6 separate regions of the Homo sapiens genome follow, and regions 1, 3, 4, 5 and 6 are each linked to region 2. The links are contacts of gene promoters, found by promoter capture Hi-C in blood cells and fetal thymus (Javierre and others, 2016). All regions are on one chromosome and are shown on one strand. Each heading gives the region's core, a stretch centred on a gene start or on the middle of the fragment in contact. The rest is flanking DNA. Distances are from core to core; before and after follow the strand shown. Region 1 overlaps LOC105369753 (a long non-coding RNA gene). Region 2 holds the start of ANP32D (acidic nuclear phosphoprotein 32 family member D). Region 3 has its middle 36 kb from the start of OR10AD1. Region 4 overlaps LOC102725258 (a long non-coding RNA gene). Region 5 has its middle 19 kb from the start of H1-7. Region 6 has its middle 53 kb from the start of OR10AD1.

What was found. Contacts are between HindIII fragments. The CHiCAGO score rates a contact against its expected background, and 5 or more counts as called.
Region 1: a contact is called between a fragment that was not itself captured here and the fragment with the promoter of ANP32D in region 2, in 1 of 17 cell types (endothelial precursors). The highest score is 5.4, in endothelial precursors.
Region 3: a fragment that was not itself captured here is called in contact with the fragment with the promoter of ANP32D in region 2 in 4 of 17 cell types (endothelial precursors, megakaryocytes, naive CD4 T cells and 1 more); the score reaches 7.8 in endothelial precursors.
Region 4: a contact is called between a fragment that was not itself captured here and the fragment with the promoter of ANP32D in region 2, in 3 of 17 cell types (erythroblasts, endothelial precursors and non-activated CD4 T cells). The highest score is 6.2, in erythroblasts.
Region 5: a fragment that was not itself captured here is called in contact with the fragment with the promoter of ANP32D in region 2 in 2 of 17 cell types (endothelial precursors and erythroblasts); the score reaches 6.5 in endothelial precursors.
Region 6: a contact is called between a fragment that was not itself captured here and the fragment with the promoter of ANP32D in region 2, in 1 of 17 cell types (endothelial precursors). The highest score is 8.9, in endothelial precursors.

What each region holds. Positions count from the first base shown.
Region 1 is chr12:48,289,723-48,294,123 of GRCh38, reverse strand. The region is part of intron 3 of LOC105369753 (a long non-coding RNA gene); the gene reads left to right. Among named protein-coding and RNA genes, the nearest start is that of H1-7, 37 kb to the left of the region's middle. The HindIII fragment of the contact is 1,086 bases long and covers 1,147-2,232 here.
Region 2 is chr12:48,470,273-48,474,800 of GRCh38, reverse strand. It overlaps ANP32D (acidic nuclear phosphoprotein 32 family member D), which reads right to left and starts at 2,242. Exons shown (of 1, transcript NM_012404.3): 1 at 1,179-2,242. The coding sequence starts at 2,136. The coding sequence ends at 1,741. It also overlaps a transcript of C12orf54 not described here. The HindIII fragment of the contact is 4,760 bases long and covers 1,935-4,528 here.
Region 3 is chr12:48,237,009-48,241,235 of GRCh38, reverse strand. It overlaps a transcript of LOC102725258 not described here. Among named protein-coding and RNA genes, the nearest start is that of OR10AD1, 36 kb to the right of the region's middle. The HindIII fragment of the contact is 1,861 bases long and covers 320-2,180 here.
Region 4 is chr12:48,219,719-48,223,913 of GRCh38, reverse strand. It overlaps LOC102725258 (a long non-coding RNA gene), which reads right to left. Exons shown (of 3, transcript XR_001749122.3): 2 at 1,854-1,988. Among named protein-coding and RNA genes, the nearest start is that of OR10AD1, 19 kb to the right of the region's middle. The HindIII fragment of the contact is 3,609 bases long and covers 775-4,195 here.
Region 5 is chr12:48,307,728-48,311,857 of GRCh38, reverse strand. No RefSeq gene overlaps it. Among named protein-coding and RNA genes, the nearest start is that of H1-7, 19 kb to the left of the region's middle. The HindIII fragment of the contact is 955 bases long and covers 1,713-2,667 here.
Region 6 is chr12:48,253,890-48,257,888 of GRCh38, reverse strand. No RefSeq gene overlaps it. Among named protein-coding and RNA genes, the nearest start is that of OR10AD1, 53 kb to the right of the region's middle. The HindIII fragment of the contact is 1,169 bases long and covers 669-1,837 here.

The DNA.
Region 1 (4,401 bases), core at 440-2,939, 180 kb after region 2:
TTCTTTTGGGCCCCTAATCCTTTGCGAGACAGGTTAGTGATTCTTTCCTGAGGTTCCATAGCTCCCAATATTTATCTGCCTCTTTGCTTGAAGTTATAAACTATGGTAGGACAGCAGAGGTCACGATAGTAAAGGATGAAACTGGAAGTAGAAGCCAGGGCAACAAATTCAAGTAGAGATTGCAAGGTCCTTCAGCTAACTCTCTGTACTCTCTATCTCAATGGATCTTAGGCTTTAGGCCAGAATCTTTCAGAAATTTCTTTAATGTCACTAACAACGTCTGAAAACAGGTCTTTTCCCTCTTCCCCTTCCTCTTGTTTCTTAGGGTTATGCAAAATTTAACTCAATATAACAAGAAGTCTTAATCCTGAATGCTATAGGAACAAGAAATGGTCTTCTGGTTGCAATCTAGAAACAGGACCAGGAAGTCCTTCTGATGGGGTTGGCTGGCATCATTGAGTCCACAGTAGAGAAAACTGATACCTAACCTGAAGAACTGCCCTAAAAAGAGGGGTTACAGCATCTGCATCCCAGATTGTGGGAACAGAGATGGCCCAGGTAAACGAAGGGAAATGTTTCAGTAGGTTAATCCCAATATAGATGAATGGGGCAGAGAATAGTTTATCACTTCTATCCCTCTGCATCCACCCAAAACTTCTTAATCTCACCTGAGGCAAATTCAGATTGGGACAACCCTAAGTCTCAATGTTCTCAAGGCCCACCAAGAGAAGCTCTCAAAAGCAAAATACCTTTCTAACTAAATTTTATGGAAAATAGATCCAGATTTCAAGTTAATGATGAAAAAATACATTTTAGCTTTCATTTTTCTAGGGTTGTTAGTAGTACTACCTTTGGGAAGATAGAATAGTAGTGAGGAAAATCAAGATATTACTAGTTTTTAGTGATTTTCTTCTTTTCTGGATCATCCACCTTCCTAGTTTTCCACTCTTCCCACTGACAGTAATTCTAGAGACTGGAACATGACATCCCCAGATGGCATTTTCTTATAGTCAAATCCTAAGTAAGTTTTAATTATCTTTGTTTCTATTGAGAAAAACAATAGGCTATAAGTTTATGATTCAGAAATCATAAGGCTGAAGAATGGGGACTACCATGAAATGTCATGATAAAATTTGACAAAAAGCTTTGATGGTGTGAGGCTATAAGAGGTGATTTTCTGAGAGTTTGGAGTGTGTGTTTGCTTGTAAATGTGTATTTCTGGAGTATGATCTCAAAAAGGTGCTAAAAGAGGAGATATGCTCAGACATATACCCATCCTGTGATGCTGAGTTTTTAAGTCTCATTACACTGAAAAGGTTTTACAGTAAACTTTTTCTTTAAAAGGCCGGTTAGTAAATATTCATTACTTTGCTGGCCACCTGGTCACTGTCACAACTACTCAAACCTGCCATTGTAGCACAAAAACAGCCAGAGACCAAATGTAAACAATTGAGCAGGGATATTGAAATATGAATTTCATACAATTTTATGTATCATAAAATGTTATTATTTTGATTTTTTCAACCATTAAAAAATGTAAAACTATTCTTATACAAAAATAGGCTGCAGGCTGAGTTAGCTTAAGAGTTTTTCTAAGTCTACAAAATTTCATTGTGCATTTTGGGAAGAAACAGGGCGTGGGTTGTAGTGTCAACTGTGAGCGTTTACAAGGGGAGAGCAAGCTGGATATTCCAAGTGAATATCCAACTTAAATATAGGACAAAATCAGACATTATGGCCCCTCTTGATTAACAGAATATGTGCACACTAAGAATAAAGACAAATAGTACTAAAAGACGTTGTAAATACTAAAAGACGTGGTAAGTATACTCTATGACATTTGCATAATGACAACATTAGCTAATGACACATTTCTCAAAACTTTTCCCCATTGTTAAGCAACACATGGCTATATTGTGGTGATAGTTTCCTCCCACATGATAGTCTCTTTGGCTCTTTTTCTTACTTCCTAGGAGATATCCTTAACTTTATTTCCCAACTATTCTATTGAGATTTCCATTTCTCTTATCATGTTTAATTCTAAGAACTCTTGTTTGTTTTATAATATCATTTGTATAGCATCCTGTACTTGTTTTGTGGATGCAGTTTATCTCTCTGAGTATTTTTCGGTTTTGACTTTTGTTTTCTTCTCTCTGCATATTCTCTGTTTCCTCCAAAGTGCTTTTTTTTTCTATTAGTTTGGTTTGGTCTTTATCTTTTATATCGGAAGCTTTCCTCATTTGTCTGGTGATACTTGGTTGTCTGTTTACAATTAGAGTGGAAGACTGTAATATGAATTGGAATTCTGAGTGCTTTGGCACTTATCAACTTATCAACTTTGAGCTGTTTTATTGGTTAATCAGGTAGATTCTTTTATTGAGAAGCCCTAATATAAATATATTTAGGTCTTTCCTCTTGAGCTGCTCTGATTCATCAGTTAAGACTCTTTCAGTCCTTTACCTGGAGGGTAAATACCTGGTTACCAACATTCTGCAATTCAAATGGGAGAAGAGATCTGGAAATCTTAGCACTCAAAAGGCGTATATTTCTTTTGTCTCTCTATTTTGCACATAGTATTAATATCTTCAAGTAGACCTGGTGTATCTGCAACAAAATTACTCTGTTTCTCCAAAGAATAAATTTTCAATTTTCTGTTAGGGTGGATAACAGATTGTTCTCACAGCTATGTGCAATGGGGGAAGGGATAAAGTAATTTAAACGTTTTTAAAAATTTTTTCAACCAATTCTTCTTTCTTAACTTTCACCCCCCCACCCTTCATTCCTAATTTCCAGAGGATTTTACAATGTACATCACAGTTAGTTCTTGGTCCCATTCCCCTACCTAGCTGCTGTACTGGAATTTTTCTTTCTTAGCTTTGCAAAATCAAATATTACACATCTATCTGTTTATCTGTTTGCAAAATTTCATTGCTCAGGATTGTTTCCCCTTCTACTCAGAAATGCTGTCTTTTTATTTTCAGTTGACATGTAATAATTATACATATTTATGGGGTATAGAATGATATATCAATACATGTATAAAATGTGTAAAAGTCAACTCAGGCTAATTAGTATATCACCTCAAATATTTATCATTTCTTTGTATTATGGACATTCGAAATTCTCTCTTCTAGATTTTTGAAAATATACAATAAATTATAGTTAACCATATTTACCCTACAATGATGCATAACACCGGAACTAATTCCTCCTATATATCTATAATTTTGAATTTGGTTTTGTTTGTTTGTTTGTTTTTGAGACGGAGTCTCACTCTGTCACCCAGGCTGGAGTGCAGTGGCACGATCTCAGCTCACTGCAACCTCCAACTCCCAGGTTCAAGCAATTCTCCTGTCTCAACCTCCGAAGTAGCTGGGACTATAGGAGCACACCACCACACCTGGCGAGTTTTTGTATTTTTAGTAGAGACGGGGTTTCACCATATTGGCCAGGCTGGTCTCAAACTCCTGACCTTGTGATCCACCCGCCTTGGCCTCCCAAAGTGCTGGGATTGCAGGCGTGAGCCACCGTGCCCTTCCAATTTTGAATTTGTTAACCAACCTCTCCTCCTCTCCTCTTGCATTCCCAGCCCCTAATATCCGAATTATACCCTCTACTTCCATATGCTAAAAATTTTTTTTAGCTCACACATATGAATGAGAACATGCAGTATTTACCTACCTGGGCCTGTTTTGCTTAACATGTCCTCCAGGCTCATCTATGTTGCTGCAAATGACAGGATTTCATTATTTCTTATGGCTGGATGATATTGCATTGTGTATGCATACCATATTTTCTTTATCATCTACTCACGGACATTTGATTCCATATCTTGGCTACTGTGAATGGTGCTGCAATAATCATGGAGATGTGGGAATCCCTTTGCTATATTGATTTCCCTTCCTTTGGATAAATACCCAGCAGTGAAATTGCTGGATCATATGGTAGTTCTACTTTTGGTTTTTTGAGAAACCTCCATACTGTTTTTCATAATGGCTATGCTAATTTATATTCCCATCACCACTGTATAAGAATTCTCTTTTCCCCACATCTTCATCAGCATTTGTTATTTTTGTCTTTTTGATAATAGACATTCTAACTGGGGTGACATGATATTTTGATTTTGATTTGCATTTCTCTGGCAATTAGTGTTGTCAAGCATTTTTTTTTTATGTTTTTTGGCCATTTGTGTGTCTTCTTTTGAGAACTATCTACTGAGTTCCATTGCCTGCTTTTTAGTGGAGTTTTTTTTATTTTTTCTTTCCTTTTCCTTCTCTCTCTCTCTTTTTTTTTTTTTTTGCTGTTGAGATATTTGAATTCCTTGTATATTCTGGATGTTCATTCCTTATCGAATGAATAGTTTGCAAATATTTTCTCCCATTCTACAGGTTGTCTCTTCAC
Region 2 (4,528 bases), core at 993-3,492:
AGAGGCAGGCAGGCCTCCTTGAGCTGTGGTGGGCTCCACCCAGTTCGTGCTTCCCGGCTGCTTTGTTTACCTAATCAAACAACTAACTTGGCAATGGCGGGCGCCCCTCCCGCAGCCTTGCTGCCACCTTGCAGTTTGATCTCGGACTGCTGTGCTAGCAATGAGCGAGACTCTGTGGGCGTAGGACCCTCCGAGCCATGTGTGGGATATAATCTCCTGGTGTGCTTTTTTTAAGCCCATTGGAAAAGCGCAGTACTAGGGTGGGAGTGACCCGATTTTCCAGGTGCCATCTGTCACCCCTTTCTTGGACTAGGAAAGGGAATTCCCTGACCCCTTGCACTTCCTGGGTGAGATGATGCCTCGCCCTGCTTCGGGTCATGCACTGTGTGCTGCACCCACTGTCCTGCACCTACTGTCTGGCACTCCCCAGTGAGATGAACCCAGTACCTCAGTTGGAAATGCAGAAATCACCTGTCTTCTGTATCGCTCATGCTGGGAGCTGTAGACCAGAGCTGTTCCCATTCGGCCATCTTGGCTCCTCCACCTGGCTCCATAAAATTGTTCTAAGCACAGAAATACATGTAGAAGAATTCTCTCATCATTTTTGTAAAACAAAGCATTCTAATATTTTACAGAACAAGATAGGACAGTTTTTTTTTCTTGTAAAGAAGTTGAAGTTTGAGGGTTTGTTTCTTCACTTTTAATTATTATTACCAAATCCATTTTCCTTGTAACTCACAAGACTGCCATTTTCAGCTCTCTGGCTCTTAAGCTCTCAAGAGTAACATCTGAGTCCTCTTTGTAGAAGGAAGCCCACCACGATCTGTGAAGGGGGAAAAGGGATGAGAGATGGGGAATGTCCCCAAACCAGTGCCAAAATACACCTTTAGGTTGCTATTTACAAACCAGGGTGTTGGATGCCTCTAGCAGTTCCGCGAAAAGCATGTGAATCAAAGCAAAAGCTATGGCTGGTGCTCAGACCCTTCTGGGTGTTGAGTAACCAAACTGAGACCAGCCGCGGACTTCCACCCAACCTGAGACTTGGAAAATACCAGGAAACATAAGAGAACTCCAAACCATCTTCTTTGAGAGCCAGGAACAAATGCTTAGTGTGTACTTAACTATTGCATTTACAGGGACAAAAACTGGACACAAGGAAAAAGTAGGGGGAAAAAATAAAGAGTGGCAGTAAAAATAGTATTTTATTCCACCCCCTCCTCCCCTCCCTTCCCTCACAACCCCCAGTACACTTTTCCTCTCTTGCTCCCACAGCAACGTTACAATCAGAAAAAAATAAGTTTCAGGGGGCAGGATTGGAGTGGGGGAGGGGATACGGCTAAAAACAGTAAAATCACAAAAGGAATTTTTCAAAATAGATTATTCCACTTAGGCATCGTCTTCTCCCTCATCTTCAGTTTCTTATTTTCGCTTCTGACCCCTTTCTTCTTCACCAAGCTCTTCTTCATCTTCCTCATCATCTACCTCTCCATTGTTATAACCTTCATCCTTCTCCTCCTCGTCTCCACTCACGTCCTCCTCTTCACGTTCCTCCTCCTCATCCTCGTCCTCCTCATCTTCCATTACCTGAGCATCTTCATCATACTCCTCCTCATCCTCATCCTCCTCCTTGTCATCCAGGCACTCCACAAAGCCCTCACCATCCGAGTTAGGGGCCTCCTTGTCATCCGGGTCACAGCCGTTGAGATATGTGAGTTGCAGGAGGAGCTTGAACATCTTTTCTCAGTAGTTGTTCAGGTTGGTTACCTCGCAAGTGAAAAGGTCTAAGCTCTCGAGGTTTTCTAACTTTTTCAGGGGCTCTATTGTGCTGAGGTCTTTAATTTTGTTGCCACTTAAATTTAGATGTATGAGGTTTGGACACTTTTCTGCCAATACTTCTAGGCCCACTGAGGCTCTGTTACTGCTTAGTTCAAGCTTCTTAAGTTTGTTTAACTTTGGCAAGTTTGCAATTGAGGTGAGGCCTATGTTGATTGTATTTAATAATTCCAGTTCTTCAAATTCATCTGTGAGGCCTTCCAATTTGCCTTCATTTGACTGACTGTTGTCCAGGAAAAGTTCTTTCACATCGGAGGGCGTCCTGTTCCGCAGCTCTAAATGAATCCATTTGCCCATCTCCATCTCTCACGCTTTCTCTGCAGAGGCTCCTGAGCCAGCGGAATTCAACCAATAAACCCCGAACCCACAACCGCACATTTGAAAGCTCAACCAGCTCTGCTGGGTTCTCCGAAAGTAAATTCTTAATTCCAAACACACCCAAAATCTATTATCTCCCATCACATTAAATTGTGCTATCATTCACCCAGTTGCTCCAAAACCTTAGAATAATGACTACTTCCTCTATTTTTCTATTTTACATCAGATAGATGTATTGGCTGTACCTTTACAGTGTATCCTAAATCTGATCACTTCTCATCATCTCTAGGCCACGCCATAGTATATATCTCACGGACTGTTGTCAAAGCCTCCTAACTAGATCATTCTTATCTTCCTGCAGCAGCCAGAATGCTCATTTTAAAATGCAGAAAACCCTAAAGACTCTGCCAAAAGGTTAATAGAGCTGATAAACAGTTTTAGTAAGATTTCAGGATACAAAATCAATATACAAAACTAGTAGCATTTCTATACACCAATAGTATTCAAGCTGAGAATAAATCAAGAACACAACCCCATTTACAATAGCCACAAAGAAAATGAAATACCTAGGAATACAGCTAACCAAGGAGAGGTGAAAAATTTCTACAAGGAGAACTACAAATCACTGCTCAAAGAAACCAGAGATGGCACAAATAAGTGGAAAAACATCCCATGTTCATGAATTGTAAGATCAATATTATTAAAACGGTCATATTCCCCAAAGTGGCTTACAGATTCAACACTATTTCTATCAAATTACCAATGTCATCCATCACAGAATTAGAAAAAAACTACTCTGAATTCACGTGGAACCAAAAAATAGCCTGAATAGCAAAAGTAGCCCCAAGTAAAAAGAACAAAGCCAGAGACATCACACTACCTGACTTCAAACTATCCTATAAAGCTATAGTAACCAAAACAGCATGGTATCGACACAAAAACAGACACATAGACAAATGGAACAGAATAGAAACTTCTGAAATAAAGCCTTACACTTAAAAATATCTGATCTTTGACAAGACCAAGAAAAACAAGCAATGGGGAAAGGACTTTCTTTTCAATAAATGGTGCTGGGATAACTGGCTAGCCATATGCAGAAGAATGAAACCAGACCCTTACCTTTCACCATACATAAAAACTAACTGAAGATGGATTAAAGTTTTAAATGCAAGACTTCAACCTATAAAAATCCTAGAAAATATGCCCCAAAGAAAGGAAATTAGTATATAGAAGAGATATCTGCACTCCTATGTTGGTTCCAGCACTGTTTACTAAGATTTGGAAGCAACCTAAATGTCCATCAGCAGATGGATGGATAAAGAAAATGTGGTGCATATACACAATGGAGTACTCGTCAGCCATAAAAATAATGAGATCCAGTCACTTGCAACAACATGAATGGAACTGGAGTTTATTATGTTAAGTGAAATAAGCCAGGCACAGAAAGACAAACATTGCATGTTCTCACTTATTTGTGGGATCTAAAAATCAAAACAATAGAACTCATGGAGGAGGGGCTGGGAAGTGTAGTGGGGGCTGTTGGGGGGAGATGAGGATGGTTAATGGGTACAAAAAAATAAAAAGAATGAATAAGACCTACTATTTGATAGCACAACAGGGTGACTATAATAAAAATAACTTAATTGTACATTTAAAAATAATTTAAAGAGTGTAATTGCATTATTTGTAACTTGAAAGATAAATGCTTCTGGGGATGGATACTCCATTATCCATGATGTGCTTATTTCACATTGCATGCCTGTATCAAAACATCCCATGTACGCCATAAGTATATATATCTAATATGCACCCACAAAATTTTAAAAAATTAAAAAAGAATAAATAAACATAAAAATTGAAAACAAATTCTAGAAGAAAACCTAGGAAATGCCCTTGTTGACATCAACCTTGGCAAAGAATTTTTGGCTAAGTCCCCAAAAGCAATTGCAACAAAAACAAAAAAAAATGGACCAGTGGGACCTAATTAAACTAAAGAGATTCTGCACAGCCAAAGAAGCCATCAGTAAACAGACTACCTACAGAATGGGAGAAAATATTTGCAAACTATGCATCTGACAAAGATCTAATATCAAGACTCTATAAGGAACTTAAATCAACAAGCAAAAAGCTACCCCATGAAAAATGGGCAAAGGACATGAACAGACACTTCTCGAAAGAACACACACAAGTAAACATATGAGAAAATGCTCATCAGAGAAATGCAGATCAAAATCACAATGAGATACCATCTTCCACCAGTTGGAATGGCTATTACCAAAAAGTAAAAAAATAACAGATGTTGGTGAGGCTGCGGAGAAAAGACAACACTTCTACATTGTTGGTGGGAATGTAAATTAGTTCAGCCACTGTGGAAAGC
Region 3 (4,227 bases), core at 1-2,500, 230 kb after region 2:
TGTACAAATAACCACACTCTTAATATGCAGGTCCTAATCTATGTGTGGAGTAACTGGTCACTTTTCAACTATGTTTTCTCTCTACCTTTTAGGGTGTTTTTTTTTTTTTTTGGTGACAGAATGGGTATTTTTTTGTTTGTTTTTACAAATTATTTAAAGTACCTTCTAGGGGTGGCTACTGTCAGGAGAAGGAATCTATTCCAAGATTTGTTTGATATTTAATTTATTTGTAATTTAGATTGGGACTCTGGAGGGAAGATGATAAACAACTATCAAGTATTTAGGTGGAAAGAATAAGTGGATATGAGATCCATAAGCTTATCTGCTATCTCCCACTCATGTGGATGCTAGAGAAGTTTCCTTGTGAACAGAGCATGTACTTTTGCCTTTTCGATAGCAGTAAAAATGTGGCATGCCAAGCAAAATCCCTCAAAGTGTCAGTCAGATCATCATTAAATGTGAAGTGTAGTTCAGGGCTCCTCAATTGCAGAGATACGGAGAATTTGCAGTGGAAGAAACTACAAGAGGGCAAAATCTAGAATTGATGGAGAAAAGGGAAAGAAATCATATTTACCTCAAAAAAGGTCTAGATGATACAATAGAAAATACTATTATAAATTGACAAACTTGCCAAATTTGTCCATCACATGGTAAACAAAAGGTTAAACATAAATCTCAATTTTTGGTGAGGCTGGGACAACATAAATAAGACCAGAAGAAATGTAGGTAAGACATAGCCAGATATTTGATACCAGTATCCTTTTAGTTTCCATAACAATCTCAAAAGCTATTTAGACATTAATTCCATCAAGGCCTAAAGGGAGCAGACAAAGTATCCTAAAACGAATTCTCTTGTGAGCCTAAGTGATTAATTTTCAATATGTATATAAATTGTATATAAATATAAGTTCACATTTATTAAATTCATTACATCTTATATGTGATTAGATTATTTCAGTTATTTTAGAGTTTTCTATTTTTGCTTTTTTTATTATTCATTTCCTTATTCTGAGGGCTAATGTTCAGAGTTTTAAGTACAATATATGCTGAAAGAAGGTAAAGGAGATGTGATTTTCAATTAAATACATAAAGTATGTTTAAAAACCACTGGCATGATCTTATTATTATTTTTTTTATTTTACTTTAAGTTCTGGGATACATGTGCAGAATGTGCAGGCTTGTAACATAGGTATTTTTGCATCTGCTTAAGAGCCTGTCTTTTTTTCTCTTAATTTTAATATTTAAAGAAATTATCTCAGAATATGACTTCTGAAGTTTGTATATCTAAGAATTATTAAATTTGATGTATTTTGGTTAATTATACCATGAGTTTAAGCCTTCCAAATCCTTACACAAAGTATCACTTTCTACCTTAAAAATGTGAATTAAAAAATATACAAAACTAAAGAATGCTGAGTTTAAAAACAAATAGAAAATAGAGAAGAACATTAAAAAATAAATCGTTTATAGCTCCACTATCTGTAAGCAGCTACTCTTAACATTTTGGCTGACTTCCTTCCAATCCTTTATCTAATCTTCCTTCCAAAGCAAAGAAAATTTCTTTTTAATTATTGTAATCTAAATCTATTGTAATTTAAATAAAAATTTAATTATTGTAATTTAATTATTGTAATATGCCAAATATGCTGGTATATATTTTGCTTTTTATTTCACTTAAAATTATGATTTCAACATTATTACACAAAGTTCATAAACATAATTTTAATGACTGCATCACATTTCATTAATTTCATTTTCTATGAAATAGCTAATCATTCTCTATTATAGCTCTTAATTTTTTGCTATTATAAATATTATAAATAGTACTATAATACACAATTTTCTGCATAAATCCTTTTCTCAGTTGGTAGCTTCCTCAAGTAAATTTTTAAAATAGATAAATCTATTCATTTAGCAAACTTATATTGTACCACTGTTTGCTAGGCACTGTTCCCAAAAGTCCTATTATTCATTTAATCATCACAGTAATCCAATAATGTAAGTACTATTATGATTATTCTCATTTTAGAGATGAGGAAATCGAGATGTGCTGGTTTACATTACCCCTGTTTACATCGTTGATAAATGGAGGAGTCTGGATTTGAATCCAGGCCCTTGGACTCTGGGATCTGTGTGAGTATAGGGACTCCACATTAAAGGGAATAAACATTTTGAAAGCTTTTGGTACATATTGCCAAACTACTTTCCAGCCAACAATGGAGTATTAGCATTGATGTTATACTTTAATTTTTTTAATTTAATGGATCAGAAATCATATGTAATTGTTTTAAAACTATTGTTTGGTTACTAATGAGTTTGAATGCTTTTGGATGGTGTTTCCTCTTCTATCAATTGAGTTCTTATCCTTTTGTCCCTTAAGATATTGGTATTTTTGATGAACTCTTGATATCATAAATTTAATATATGGTTGACTCTTGTATTTGCTCATTTTTCTAATCAGTTACTTGTTAAAAATAAGTGAAGTGGCTTATTTTTATATACCAAAGTTTTCCACTTGATGTTAGTCAGATATGTCATCTTTCTCTTCATGACTTCTTCTATGATGTAGACAAAGTCCACAAGCTCAAACTCCACCACTGGTCAGAGAGATAATACAATGGGCTGATGTGGGGCTGATGTGGGGCTGATGTGGGCCCGATACAAGGCAACAGGTAGTCTTGAAACTGGGAAGAACTTGCAGCTTGTCCAAACAGGAGGAACACCACTAAATTCCAATTTGTTGTTGATAAGAATAGGCCCACTGTGGCAAGATCTGAATTTTTCCAGAATCCAGATTATTACATACAACATCCTTCAAAGGAAACACTGCAGGCTTAATAAAACATTGGGGTGGGACAGAGGGCTCATAACTTATCACTTTTGCCTCAGAAGTTCTCCATTCAAAATTTTAGATCAGTATTTAATTATATTTCCTTCCAGGTTTTTTAGTGAGTTTTTTATATATTCAAATTTTTATACTACTTGTACTTAGCATTATGGTGTGAAGCAAGCATCTAGTTGCTTCCATAAAACCAAGAAAGGAAAGAGATGGATTTATGTCTCAAAGTTCTCTTCCTTTGCAGAAGGATCAATGAAATGATGGAGAAATATTAAATGTTATGATAGTGGTTTCTCTAATCTTGAAGAAAAAGTTGCCTTTTTTCTCTGTATGATTGACTTACACTGAACACTCTCATTTCCTGAATTATAGTATATAATTTGCTTGTTTGCTTGAAATTAAGGCAGAAGGATCCATAGATAAATTGGAATTTAAAACTCCTTGAAATGCTCAAAAGAAAACTAACAGAAAGGGGAAAGTATCCAAAGTAATGCAAAACTTTCAGAGGATTAAAACAATCAATCTAATCTTGCATTAAATATTGCAGATTTGATAAGTGAATTTCAGGCAGATTTTAGTTAGTGGGCTTATAGTTAGAAAGTGATTAACAAACATCACATTGTTTAAATATTCATTTCCTTTCTCAAAAATCATTAATCAAAAGCTTACTCTGTGCTGGAGCAACAGTAGATGTTTTTGTCCTGCTATTACTATTTTGTAGTTTTTTTACCCTCACTTTTGTCCTGGGAGTGCTGTGATTCTGTGTTAATGAATACAAACATTAAAATTAGAATTATAAAACTGAGGGGTTAGTTTGGTCAGGTCTGCCTGTCCTGCTTGCTTTTGGTTGCTTGCTTTTTGTTATTTTTTATCTCTCCCTGAAGTTGAAGTCTGCAATCACTGAAGGGCATGCCACTGAATGCTGAAACGTAACCTTCACCAGCTACTTTATAGATAACATTCACAGGTCACCATGGTAACGGTTACTTCAGTTGTTTTTCAGAAACTTGGACCTGCTTCTGTCCAGTTCAAACTGGTTGAGACCACTGACCTTTTAACTGGGTCTGCTCAAGTGCTGGAGAGGCGGCCTTTTTATGTTGGAGGGCCAAAGACTCCATCCTCAGTCCATGCTAATGCTGCCATTTTCTGTACATATGTGCTGTGGAATGCCACAAACTCCAGCTAGGCTGTTGCAGAATGAACCTGTTACTTCATTTTTCCCCACTAGCAACCACCTTTCCCCACACCTTAGACCACCTCACTTCCCTAACCCATAAATACCCTTAAGCTTTATCTTTGGGGAGGCAGATTTGAGAGCTGTTCTCCCACCGCCTCCTCGCTGGGTGTCCTTTCGAATAAATCTTTTCTCTTTTGCAAAACCTGAATCA
Region 4 (4,195 bases), core at 1,330-3,829, 250 kb after region 2:
ACATAGCACAATACTGACAACATAACAGGCACTCCCCTATCAAATGAATGAGCTCTTTTTGGCTGTAAAGTAGGTGGAGTGCAATTGGCCCCAGTGATCCATTCAAATAAAAATGGATTTCTATCCTCTTTCCTTTCTCCCAACTGGGCTTGTAGTATATTCCCTAATCTGGAGTCAGCTATAATTGGTGCATTTTAATTAGAAAAACCAGTCAATATTTTTCTCTGATGTTTCTTCTCTTTGGTTCCAGTCTTATTCATTGAGGTTACACAGACAAAGTAAATTCTCTCTTCTAAATGGAAAACCTGTAAACATCCATGTTTGGCTTTCAGCAAAAGAACGATAATAAAAATTAGAAAAATTTGTGAAACCCAAAATAACAATGAAACTACATATAATTTTGTGGAATATAACTAGGGCAGTAATTAGGGCAGAACTTTCTCTTAAAAGAAGTTAAAATTTTAAAAATTAGCAAACAACTTAATCACAGAATAAAATACATTATGCAAGGAAAGGGAAAGGAAGAAAAAATGCACATAATAGATGGATTGAACAAAATTCAAAGATTGATTAAACTAATAAAGGTCGAAGAAATTAATACTTTGACAGTTCTCTGGCATGATTTATGTTATAAAAAAACAGACTTAAATAAACAATATTAAAAATGAAAGGGGCACAGATGTTGCAGACTGAATTATAAGGGGGGCTTCTGCTTCTGATATTTATAGACAAGGTAATTTGGATCAACCATCTCAACAAAAACAACCAAAAGCTTGACACATTTTAAAATATCTACAATAAAGGCATTAAAGAACTAAAAATGCAGTGAAGAATTTTAGAGCCAAGATCCAGGAGCATTCACTATGTATTTAGCCACATTAGAAATAGCTGATGTCGCCAGGCGTGGTGGTTCACGCCTGTAATCCCAGCACTTTGGGTGGCCGAGGCTGGTGGATCACCTCAGGTCAGGAGTTTGAGACCAGACTGGCCAACATGGTGAAACCTGCCTCTACTAAAAATACAAAAATTAGCTAGGAGTGGTGGCGGACCCAGCTACTCGGGAGGCTGAGGCAGGAGAATCGCTTGAACCCGGGAGGCAGAGGTTGCAATGAGCCAAGATCATGCCATTGCACTCCTGCCTGGGTGACAGAGCGAGACTCTGTCTCAAAAAAAAAAAAGAAAGAAAGAAAGAAAGAGGGAGGAAGGGAGGGAGGGAGAGAGAGACAGAAAAAGAAAGAAAGAAAAAGAAAGAAAGAAGCAAAGCAAAGCAATAGCTGATGTAGCTGAGGAAAGAACTGGTAAAGTGAGTGACTCATGCCTGTAATCTAGACACTTTGGGAGGCTGAGATGGGAGGATCGTTTGAGTCCAGGAGTTCAAGACCAGCCTAGGCAACATGGCAAAACTCTGTCTCTACAAAAAATACAAAAAATTATCGGGGCGTGGTGGTGCAAGCCTGTAGTCCCAGCTACTCAGGAGGCTGATGTGGGAGGATAGCTTGAGCTCGGGAGGTCAAGGCTACAGTAAGCCATGATCATGCCACTGCACTCCACCCTGGGCAACAAAGCAAGACCCTGTCTCAAAAAAAAAACAAAAAACAAAAAAAAAACAAAAAGAAAGAAAGAATTGGTAAAGATGAAGGTATGTCATAAAGAAGATGAAAGAAAGAATGGATAGAGCAAAAGCAATATTTGAAGAGAAAATAGCTTGGAATTAAAGAGGCCTTAAATATCTTCAAAATATTTTATTTATAAAAAGAAAGCCATAGCTTGACACATCACTAGAACTTCTGAAAATGAAAGGCAAAGAGAAAAACTTAAGAGGAGCCTGAAAAAAAAAAAAAAAGGCAGATTACCTTCAAAGGAACCACGATCAGGTTGGCAGTGTTTTTCTCAATGATGCAAGTCAAAATATAAAATTTTCTTGTTTAAGATTCCATTGTAGCAGACTAGAGAAGGGTTGTAAGTCACAGTGATATGCTCCTGCTGGCCTGGAAGAAAACAAACATCCATGCTGTGAACTGCCTGTGGGGGCCGTGTGGCCAGGAACTCTAGGAGCTGAGACCAATCCCCAGATGACAGCTAGTAAGTCATACGACTGCAAAAAAATGATTCTGCCAGCAACCAGTGAGCTTGGAAGAAGACCAATGCCTCAGATGAGAATGGCAGCCCCAGATGACTCCTTGATTTCCACCTAGTGAGACTGAGCAGAAGACTCAGCTAGTTCATACCCAGACTCCCAACCCATGGAAATGGTGAGATAATTTTCACTTGTAATAGTAAAGAAAAATTGTAAGATAAATTTTAAGATATTGTAAGATAAGATAAAGCAAAAAAATCATATGATAAATTTTACTATAAGCCACTAAATTTGTGGTAACGTTACACTGCAATAGAAAACTAATATATGTTTTAATTTTTTTTTTTTTTTTTGAGACGGAGTTTCACTCTGTCGCCCAGGCTAGAGTGCTGTGGCGCGATCTCGGCTCACTGCAAAGTCCGCTTCCCGGGTTCACGCCATTCTCCTGCCTCAGCCTCCCGAGCAGCTGTGACTACAGGCGCCTGCCACCACAACCGGCTATTTTTTTTGTATTTTTAGTAGAGACGGGGTTTTACTGTGTTAGCCAGGATGGTCTCGATTCCCTGACCTCGTGATCTGCCCGCCTCGCCTCCCAAAGTGCTGGGATTACAGGCGTGAGCCACCGCGCCCGGCTGTTTTAAATATTTTTAAGAAAATACTATGGAAAATTTTATGCCATTAAATCTGATAATGTAGATAAATGAAAAGTTATTAGAAAAATATAATTTTCCAAGTTGAAGAAGAAATAGAAAAACATAAACACACATATAAGCATGAGATTAAATGAATAGTTTAAAAATATTTCTATAAAGCCAGACATATGATTTTAAGGCAGATACTATCAAACAATTAAGGAAAAAAATGCTAACTTTGACTATACTAGAACAAAAGGAAGTACCTCAACCTTTTTAGTGATGTAAATATAACTTTGAAACTAAAATTTGCCCCCGGCAAAAAAGATAATTTCACTCTTGGACATAGTTGCAAAACTCCTAAGCAAAATTTTAGCAAATTGTATATTACAATATATTTAAAAGATTATACCTTATATCATGACCAAAGTAAAGTTTATCCCAGTAATTCAAAGTTGATTTTTTATTTTTATTTTTTAATTTAATTTAATTTTTTTAGAGACAGGGTCTCTCTTTGTCACCCAGGCTGGAGTGCAATGGTGCAATCAGCCTCAACCTCCTGGGCTCAAGTGGTCCTTCTGCCTCAGTCTCCTGAGTAGCTAGGACTACAGGCATGAATCACCATGCCTGGCTAATATAAAAAAATTTTTTTTAGAGATGGGGTCTCGCTGTATTGCACAGGCTGGTCTCGAATTCCTGTCCTCAAGTGATCCTTCCACCTCAGCCTCCCAAAGTGCTGGGATTACAGGCATGAGCCACTGTGCCAGCCTTGAAGTTGATTTAACATTAAAAAATGAATTAATGTAAATTACCACAGGAACAGAAAATGAAAAATCACATAATCATCTTAAGAGATGCAGGAATGCCATCTATTTTATTGAAAATTCATGTCTGTTTGTAATTTTTTGAAAAAAATCTCAGCAGACCAGGAATAGAAAAGAACTTCCTTAAGCTATTAAAGTGATTATAAACCAAAACCGCATAGCAAACATCATCTTTAATAGTGAAACATTAAAAGCATTATCTGTAAGATCATGTCTACTTTGTTATTAATAAAGGTGATATTTTGACCTCTATCTGCAGACTCATTGTCTTATTTCTCAGTTGATTCAGAACCATATGGGAGAGTAATATTGTTTACTGTATCCCCCTCGAGGTCCCATACAATTATTTTAAGTGATATTATTATATGTGTGGAAATAAAATTGCAAACAAAGAAAACAATAGAGTTTTGGTTATAATTAAAATATACTCAGTCATAATAATGTCTGGCAGGTCCTGGAAGAAAAGAATGCTGGTGATACACATATTTTGCATTCTCAAAGTACAGTGCGGGTGAATTAAGGGACAGAAATCTGCATTCCATGACCACAGCAGCACAATGTACAAAGTATGCCATTGTAGACTAGACTGGTGGGAAAATGTCTTATTATAATGTAATGCTCTGATTCTTGTCATATTTACCTAAGAGGGGCAGGACAGTATT
Region 5 (4,130 bases), core at 941-3,440, 160 kb after region 2:
CTAGCATAAATCACTGTATTCTTCATCACCACACACTCACAGGGAAGAAGAGAAAAAAAAGCAAGTTTAATTTTCAATATTTTTGATGAAGCAATAAAAATTATTAATTGTACTAAATTTCAACTTTTGAGTACTGTCTTCATCTGAAAAATCACAGTTCAGTGGGAAGATGCCACCTAAAAAGTCTAAGATCCTTGCCCCAAATGGACTGTGAGAACAAAAAGAGGGTATGTTTGAGTCCCACTGCTCTGAATTTCAAGATTTACAGTCAAACTCACAGGATGGCAGTTGTTTATCTGCCCTTAACTAGCATTTGGTCTGCTCAGGACCCTCCCTGTCACCAAACAGGAAACGCAAGAAAGGGAGTGTTGGCTGCCTGGCTGCTGACAAGCTAATCACAGGACTCAGTGACCTTCAATGAAGAGGGCTTTACTGGACTCATCTCAGTGAAACCTGCACAGGAATGAGATACAGGAGAACTACCAACGTGGTATCACTTAGGCATCATATGGGCAAACTCCGTTTGATCTCTTGGTTAGAGAAAGAAGATGAGTTGATGACAGAAGATGAAATTTCCCAAGTATTTGTATGTTCTACTTAAAAATCAAAGGGTCAAATCTTAAGTAGGACATTTTTAGGTAAAATGTAAAAGTCAACACAATTGTGCAAAAATGGAGATAAGTCATCTTAGAGAAACACTCAATGAATATCATCAGTGCAAGGTCTAACCTTATTCAACACAAGAAAATTCAAACTGGTGAATTTTCTGCTCTGCATATAACTAATATGAAAAATGTTTCAGTAGTAACTCTTAATTTCTGAGGTACATGTGAATACAAAATGGAGATAAACCTTATGAATGTAAGGACTGCAGAAGGCCTTCAGTTATCACTCATCCCTTTGGATACATATTATAATTCACATTAGAATAAAGCACAATGACAGTAAGCAGCATTTTCAAGTCTTTAGCATTAGATCTGTCCTTAGAGGAGAGAAGAGAATACTGAGGAGAATCTCTATAAATGTGATTGATACAGAAAAGTTTTCAGTGTAAGTTCTACTCCCATTGTGTTCATGAGAATTCACACTGGGGAAAAACCCTGTAACTGTCATGATTATACTGGAAAAATATTCAGGAAGCACTCACGTTTGATGTACACGAGAGCGCAAACTGGGGAGCTCAAACTGGGGACATATTGATTACAGCTTTTCCCTTACAGTGTACAAGAGAATACAAAATAGAATGCAAAGATGGTGGGAAAGCCTTTAGTATTACTTCATCCCTTAGAAAACATGAGAAACCACACTAGTGAAAAGCCCTATGAATGTAATCAGTACAAAAAATCCTTCCAATATAATCCTTCATTTACCACACATAAGAGTATATAATGGGGAGAATCCCTATGAATGTGGAAAAGCACGTATTGATCTTTCATCTGTTAGGCACATGAGACAATTTATATTAGACATCTTATGAATGTAACCAATGAGTACGGGACAATTTCTCTGTCCTTAGGTAATCAATGAGCAGTTGCAGCAAAGAGAAACACTTCGAATGTCATCAGTGTGAATGAGCCTTTCATTTTGCACAAGACAAATCACACAACAGGAATATATAAGCAATGGGTATCCTTCATCCATTGGAGAAGAATCTTTTAATATAATCAGCAAGGCTGGCTTCATGGGCATGTTACTACACAGGGCTTCAAGCTTGGGTTTTAATGCTGAAGTTGCCGTCTTACAATTCTTAATTTAGTTTTGAATTTGTGTTTTGTAAGTGAAGTCTTATGGAACCATGTAACATGTACTAGAAGCCCTAAAGCTCATGCAAAGACCTCCCGCCACCTCCTCCATTACTGGGGAAAGATTCTATATAACCATATACACAAGACCTCTAAAATTATTTTTACAGATAAATAGTATACAAAAATGTTTTTTTCACACTAATATATACAAGTATGCCAAAAAGAGACACAGCCTTCTTTACAAATCCCAAAATAAATAAACTCATGGATCCAAGGACTTAGGCTAGAAATATGAATCATGTAACAATACTGCAACCACAAGCCTGCTACAAAACTTAACAGATAAAAGAGCTAACTTTACAAAGCACCTAAATTGGTTCAGAAGTTATACTCTTTAAAACAGAGAATTCTATTAATACACTGTGCTAGATAAACATTGATCTAGCACTAATTGCCACAGGATGACAGCAAGTCCTAGAAACAAATCCCACATATTTCAACCCCCACCTCCATCACCACCAGAAGCAATTTGTCCCTCAAAAACCAGACAGCTCTGCTATAATAGCAGCTTTGATGGGCCAATACTTCAAAGGACAACTCCAACTTAAAATCAACCCAACATTTTTGCTATATGGAAATATTTGGTAAGTTTTTCCTCTAACACTGGATTCCTGTTCACTTATCAGCTTCCATATTTCTCAGATTTCAGAAATATTGAGATGTTCTTTCTCCACCACTCACTTCTAATTTCCCTTATTGGATGCTTGGGAAATACTCGCCTTCATCATACTTGTCCCACTGTCTTATATGCTGCTTTCTTCAACCATCAAAAGAATAAATAAAATTTACAGTTTATAATTATGTTTTAAACTATTTAAAAAAAAACCAATGGGGAAAAAGTCTCTAGGGCTTCTATGAAGCTTTTGGAGAGAAAAATGTATTTTTAAACCTTAGCAAAAAAGTTGAATTTCAGGACTAGTATCTGAAGGCCTTAATTAACCAGAAGAGGATAAAATATCCTTCATCTCATGTCTTAGAACTCTAAAATATGACTTTCTAGAAGACAAGGACCAGGCTACATGTGACTTACATTACAAAATGTTTGTTTTGTTGAGTTATTATGTTGACACTTATAAACTTTCAGATACGGTTGCTACTTTCTCCTAGTCCACTAGTTGCTTACATATAGCCATTCTTCATAAGCCCGTCACCTAAATGGGTCTTTTCTCCATGATCCATTTGCCTTAAAATCCCTAAGACACAAGTACCAAGTCTCTTCATCATGCACCAATAATAACAGCAATGCCTACAGTTGGATAAAACTGAAGAAGGTATCCCTAGTCCTAAAAACTTCGAAATAATATGTTAAACTAATTCTGTCCTGTCTGCAGCTCCTGAACTTCAACAGTTATTTTTCTTTTTAAATAATAGTTATATCCTACTTTTCTGACTCATTAATATAAGTGCATTGCATAGAATGTAGAAAATACAAAAAGTACTACAGACCAGGGGTCCCCAATCTCCAGGCCACCAACCGGTACCTGTCAGAAACCAGGCAGCACACCAGGTGGTGGGCAGCCAGCATTACCTCCTGAGCTCTGCCTCCTGTCAGATCAGTGGCGACATTAGATTCTCACAGGATCAGCACCCTATCGTGAACTGCTCATGTGAGGAATCTAGGCTGCCCACTCTTTATGAGACTCTAATGCCTGATGATGAGTTTCATCCCGAAACCATCTCCCCAACCCCCGTTCTCCCCAACGCCCCCGTCCATGGAAGAATTGTCTTCCACAAAAGTGGTCCCTGATGCCAAAAAGGTTGGGGACCGCTGCTACAGACTAAAGAAAACAAAGTGTGCATATTCCTAAGGCCTTATAAATGAAATCACCTACTCTGAAGAAATTAAAGCAGACCTTTTTTAGAAAGAGAAAAAAAGTGAGGGAAGGGAGAGAGCCCCCAAATAAGTTAAGAATCCAAGGAGGCTTGCTCCTCTAATAGTCACCAAAAAGTAGGGGCTTTTCACTTCCTAAAAGAAACGGAAATTTTCCCAAAGAAAATGGAATACGCAACACATCCTCTGCTTATTCCATCTTTCTTCTGTTCACTTTACCTGCACTGATGGTATAATGGGCCTTTTTCTGCCTCTTCCATTTTTAGGAAAACGTTTGTCTTCAGAAAACCTCCATTCCCGGTTCTTCTGAAAACAAAAATTAAGTCTAAGAATTATTTAAAAGATTAAGAATTTTCAAAAATTCTTAATCTTTCCCACCCTAGACGTGTGGGCTCATAACAGGAAGACTTCATAGTGACATGGGCAGAAGGCACCAGGGGAGCTGGAGGGGCCCTCAGGAGGCCAGGGGAGTCCCAAATTCACACGGTAGCTCA
Region 6 (3,999 bases), core at 4-2,503, 220 kb after region 2:
CCATGACCGACTTTTTTTTTTTTTTTCTATAGAGATGGGTATGTTACCCATGCTGGTCTCAAACTCTTGGCCTCAAGCTATCCTCCCACCTCAGCCTCCAAAAGTGCTGGGATTACAGGAGAGACTCACCACAACCCGGCCCTGAAAACATCATTCTAAGAAAGGGATTACAATCTTCAGTGGAGGTTCAACACTCCCTGGCATAACAGGAATCCCCAAAGTAGAAAATTTAAGCAATGGAACATAAGAAATCCTAAAAACTATAACAACAATAAAAAACTTTCCTAAAATAAAAAAATTACTTGAATGTCCATGTAAGAAGAAAATACTGTGTACCTGAGAAAATGGATTCGGAATGGTCACTATCAAGACATAGTCTGTAAAATAATAAGATTTTAAACAAAATTTTTTAAAAACCCTCTGGGCATCCATACAAATAGACAAAGTCACTGATAAGGGAAAAAAACCAGATTGTCATCACATTGTCAGTAATAATGCTGTACACCAGAAAACAACAGATTAACGTATTTTAGGCAGTCAAGATAGAAAAGGTGAGCCATGAATTATCTAACTAAACTGAACTTTAACTATAAAGATCACACTCAAGCTGTTATGTATGCAAGAACCCAAAAGAATTTTTTGCTGAGGAATCTATGACAGAATAAGCTTCAGACAATCAAAGTGATTGGAGAGGTATTGATGTAGCGACTGGTAGGTAATCGAATAATTGATGAGAGGAATTTTCTCTCTAAAGTCAAAGATGAAATAATAGAATTAGAATATCAACATTTTACAGCCCATAATGAATTCCTGGACCTAACAATTATTAATAGCTGACAGCACAAAAAGAGAGAAAGTCAGACATTATATGCTTCCTGGTGGAAGTATCCAACACCAATTATAAAGCAGTCTTAGAAGAAAAAAATCAAACATGAACCTGATAAGCCTCTAGATCTAATTGCCAATTTACAGAAAATACATGGGACAGAATAATGTTAAAGACCACCACAGAAAGGCAATCAGCAAAATCCCAAGTATGTAACATCATTCAGGACAAATAATCTGATTTATTCAACAAAAGTTAGAATAATAAGAAAAATATATGGCAGAAGAGCAGTATAGATTAAGAGACTTACAGATACATCAACCAATCACAATATAGAAGATAATTAGGAAATATGGACATTGACTGGACTTGAAGTTATTAAGAAATTTTAAAGAATTTTTAGGTAAGATAACGGTGTGATTGTGATGCTAATTTTAAGATTTCTTATCTTAGAAATACATACTGAAGTATTTATGAATGAAATTGTATGATGTTTGGAATTTGTTTCAAAATAATTTAGTGGAGATTAGAGAGTGAGGTGAGGGTATAGATGAAACAAGATTGAAGATGTGTTGGTCACTGTTGAAGCAGAATGATGGGAACATAAAAATTTATTCTATTCTATTTTTTGAATATCTGAACATTTCCATTAAGAGCATTATTTAAAATAAAATTAAAACATCAAGATGAAAAAGTTTTCTTGGAGAGATTGGGAATAAATTAAAAATAGATGTGTAGAAACCTAACCAAATGAGAAAAAGTAAAAAGTATACCACCCTGGACAACAAGATGAAATACGTCTCTAGAAAAAAAAATTAACCAGGTGCAGTGGCAAGCACCTGTATTCCCAGCTACTCAGGAGGCTTAGGTGGGAGGATCGCTTGGGTTCAGGAGTTCGAGGCTGCAGTGAGCTAAAATCACGCCACTGCCCTCCAGCCTTGGTGAAACAGCAAGTCCCCCTCTCTAAACAAGAAAAGAAAAAGGGATTTACTCCAGGAAAAACAAAAAGCTTTACAACCAGAGAATATCCTAATTCTATTTGGCTCAGTTAGGAAATATATTAACATAAAAATTAAATATTACTTAATGTAAAAGAAAAATGTTACTAACATGTATAAGTATAAATTTTGTTATATTATTTTCCACAAAAAAGAAAAAATAGATAATTTGGTCTTTACCGTAGTTAGTTGAAATCCATTTTTTATCATCAAAAGTTTAGGCCGGGCGCGGTGGCTCACGCCTGTAATCCCAGCACTTTGGGAGGCCGAGGCGGGTGGATCATGAGGTCAGGAGATCGAGACCATCCTGGCTAACAAGGTGAAACCCCGTCTCTACTAAAAATACAAAAAATTAGCCGGGCGCTGTGGCGGGCGCCTGTGGTCCCAGCTACTCGGGAGGCTGAGGCAGGAGAATGGCGTGAACCCGGGAAGCGGAGCTTGCAGTGAGCCGAGATTGCGCCACTGCAGTCCGCAGTCCGGCCTGGGCGACAGAGCGAGACTCCGTCTCAAAAAAAAAAAAAAAAAAAAAAAAAAAAAAAAAGTTTAAAAAAGATTTCTCAGCTTCATGGCTCCAGTTATTACATCCAGTAATGTCATGTAAAATTTTAAAATGGATGTCAAATTTGAAAAAAATCTCTCAATTTTTATGACGTGTTGCACTATGAAATGTAAAGGCTTTGCAAGTTTTCTTGTGCAGTGACTAATCTTCAACACTCTTTTCCTAACAATGTCATTAATGTTCTTATTGCAGTGGTATAATGAGTTTAAAATTATCTCCATTGATGTCAATTTTTTAAATAGTCTTTTAATATACTAAGAACATTAAAATACTTTTTTAATGTATTAAAATATTGCTAATACTTTTAATGACATTGTCATTAATATTCTAATTGAAATGCTGTCACGAGTTTAATCTTATCTCCATGGATGTCAACATTTCTTGTCAAATTAGCAATATATTTTAATTATTTCCAGTTTGCTCATATGACTTGTTACTGTGTTATCAAATAATGTAAAAGCCTAACCATTTCTTCTATTTGAAATTTGTCTCCTTCTGTTAATCAATTCATGCTATTGTATGATAAGAATTTTTGTTACAGTTAGCATCTTGATGTCAAGATAATTTCTACTGATTTCATCTTTCATCTTTCTGTCTTGTGTTTCAGTCTGTTAATTTTTTTACTGAATTTCCCCTTGGTTCTTTAATTTAAAATTTTCAAGTTAACAGAGTAAGAAATCCTTCATATATTTCCATATCAGTAGTCTATAATATTTCACCTTGCATTTTTGGAAATATTCCAAATTACAGTTAATTTGCTTTATCATTTTTTTAATTTTTAATTTTTGTGGGTATATAGTAGGTATATATATTTATCGGATAAAGGAGATATTTTGATACAGGCTTGCAATTTGTAATAATCACATCATGGAAAATGGGGTATCCATCCCCTCAAGCATTTAACCTTTGTGTTACAAACAATCCAATTATACTCTTTTGGCTATTTTTAAATGTACAACTAAATTATTTTGACTATAGTCACTCTGTTATGCTATCAAATACTAAGTCTTATTTATTCTTTCTTTCTTTCTTTCTTTCTTTTTTGGTAAGCATTAGCCACCCTGACTTCCCCCATGTACCCCCAACTACCCTTCCTAGCCTCTGGTAACCATCTTTCTACTCTCTATCTCCATGAGTTCAATTGTTTTAGTTTTTAGATCCCACAGATAAGGAAGAATATGTGATGTTTGTCTTTCTGTGCCTGGCTTATTTCACTTAACACAATAACCTTCACTTCCATCCATGTTATTGCAAATGACAGGATCTCATTCTTTTCATTGGCTGAATAGTACTCCATTGTGTATAAGTACCGCTTGTTCTTTATTCATTCATCTGTTGATGGACACTTAGGTTGCTTCCACATCTTGGCTATTGTAAATAGAGCTGCCACAAACATGGGAGCGCAGATACCTCTTCGATATACTGATTTCCTTTATTTGGGGTATATACCCAGCAGTGGGATTGCTGGATCATATGGTAGCTCCATTTTTAGTTTTTTTGAGGAAACTCCAAACTCTTTTCCATAGTGGTTGTACTAATTTACATTCCGACCAACAGCGTACATCTTTTCTCCATATCCTCTCCAGCATTTGTTATTACCTATCTTTTGGATAAAT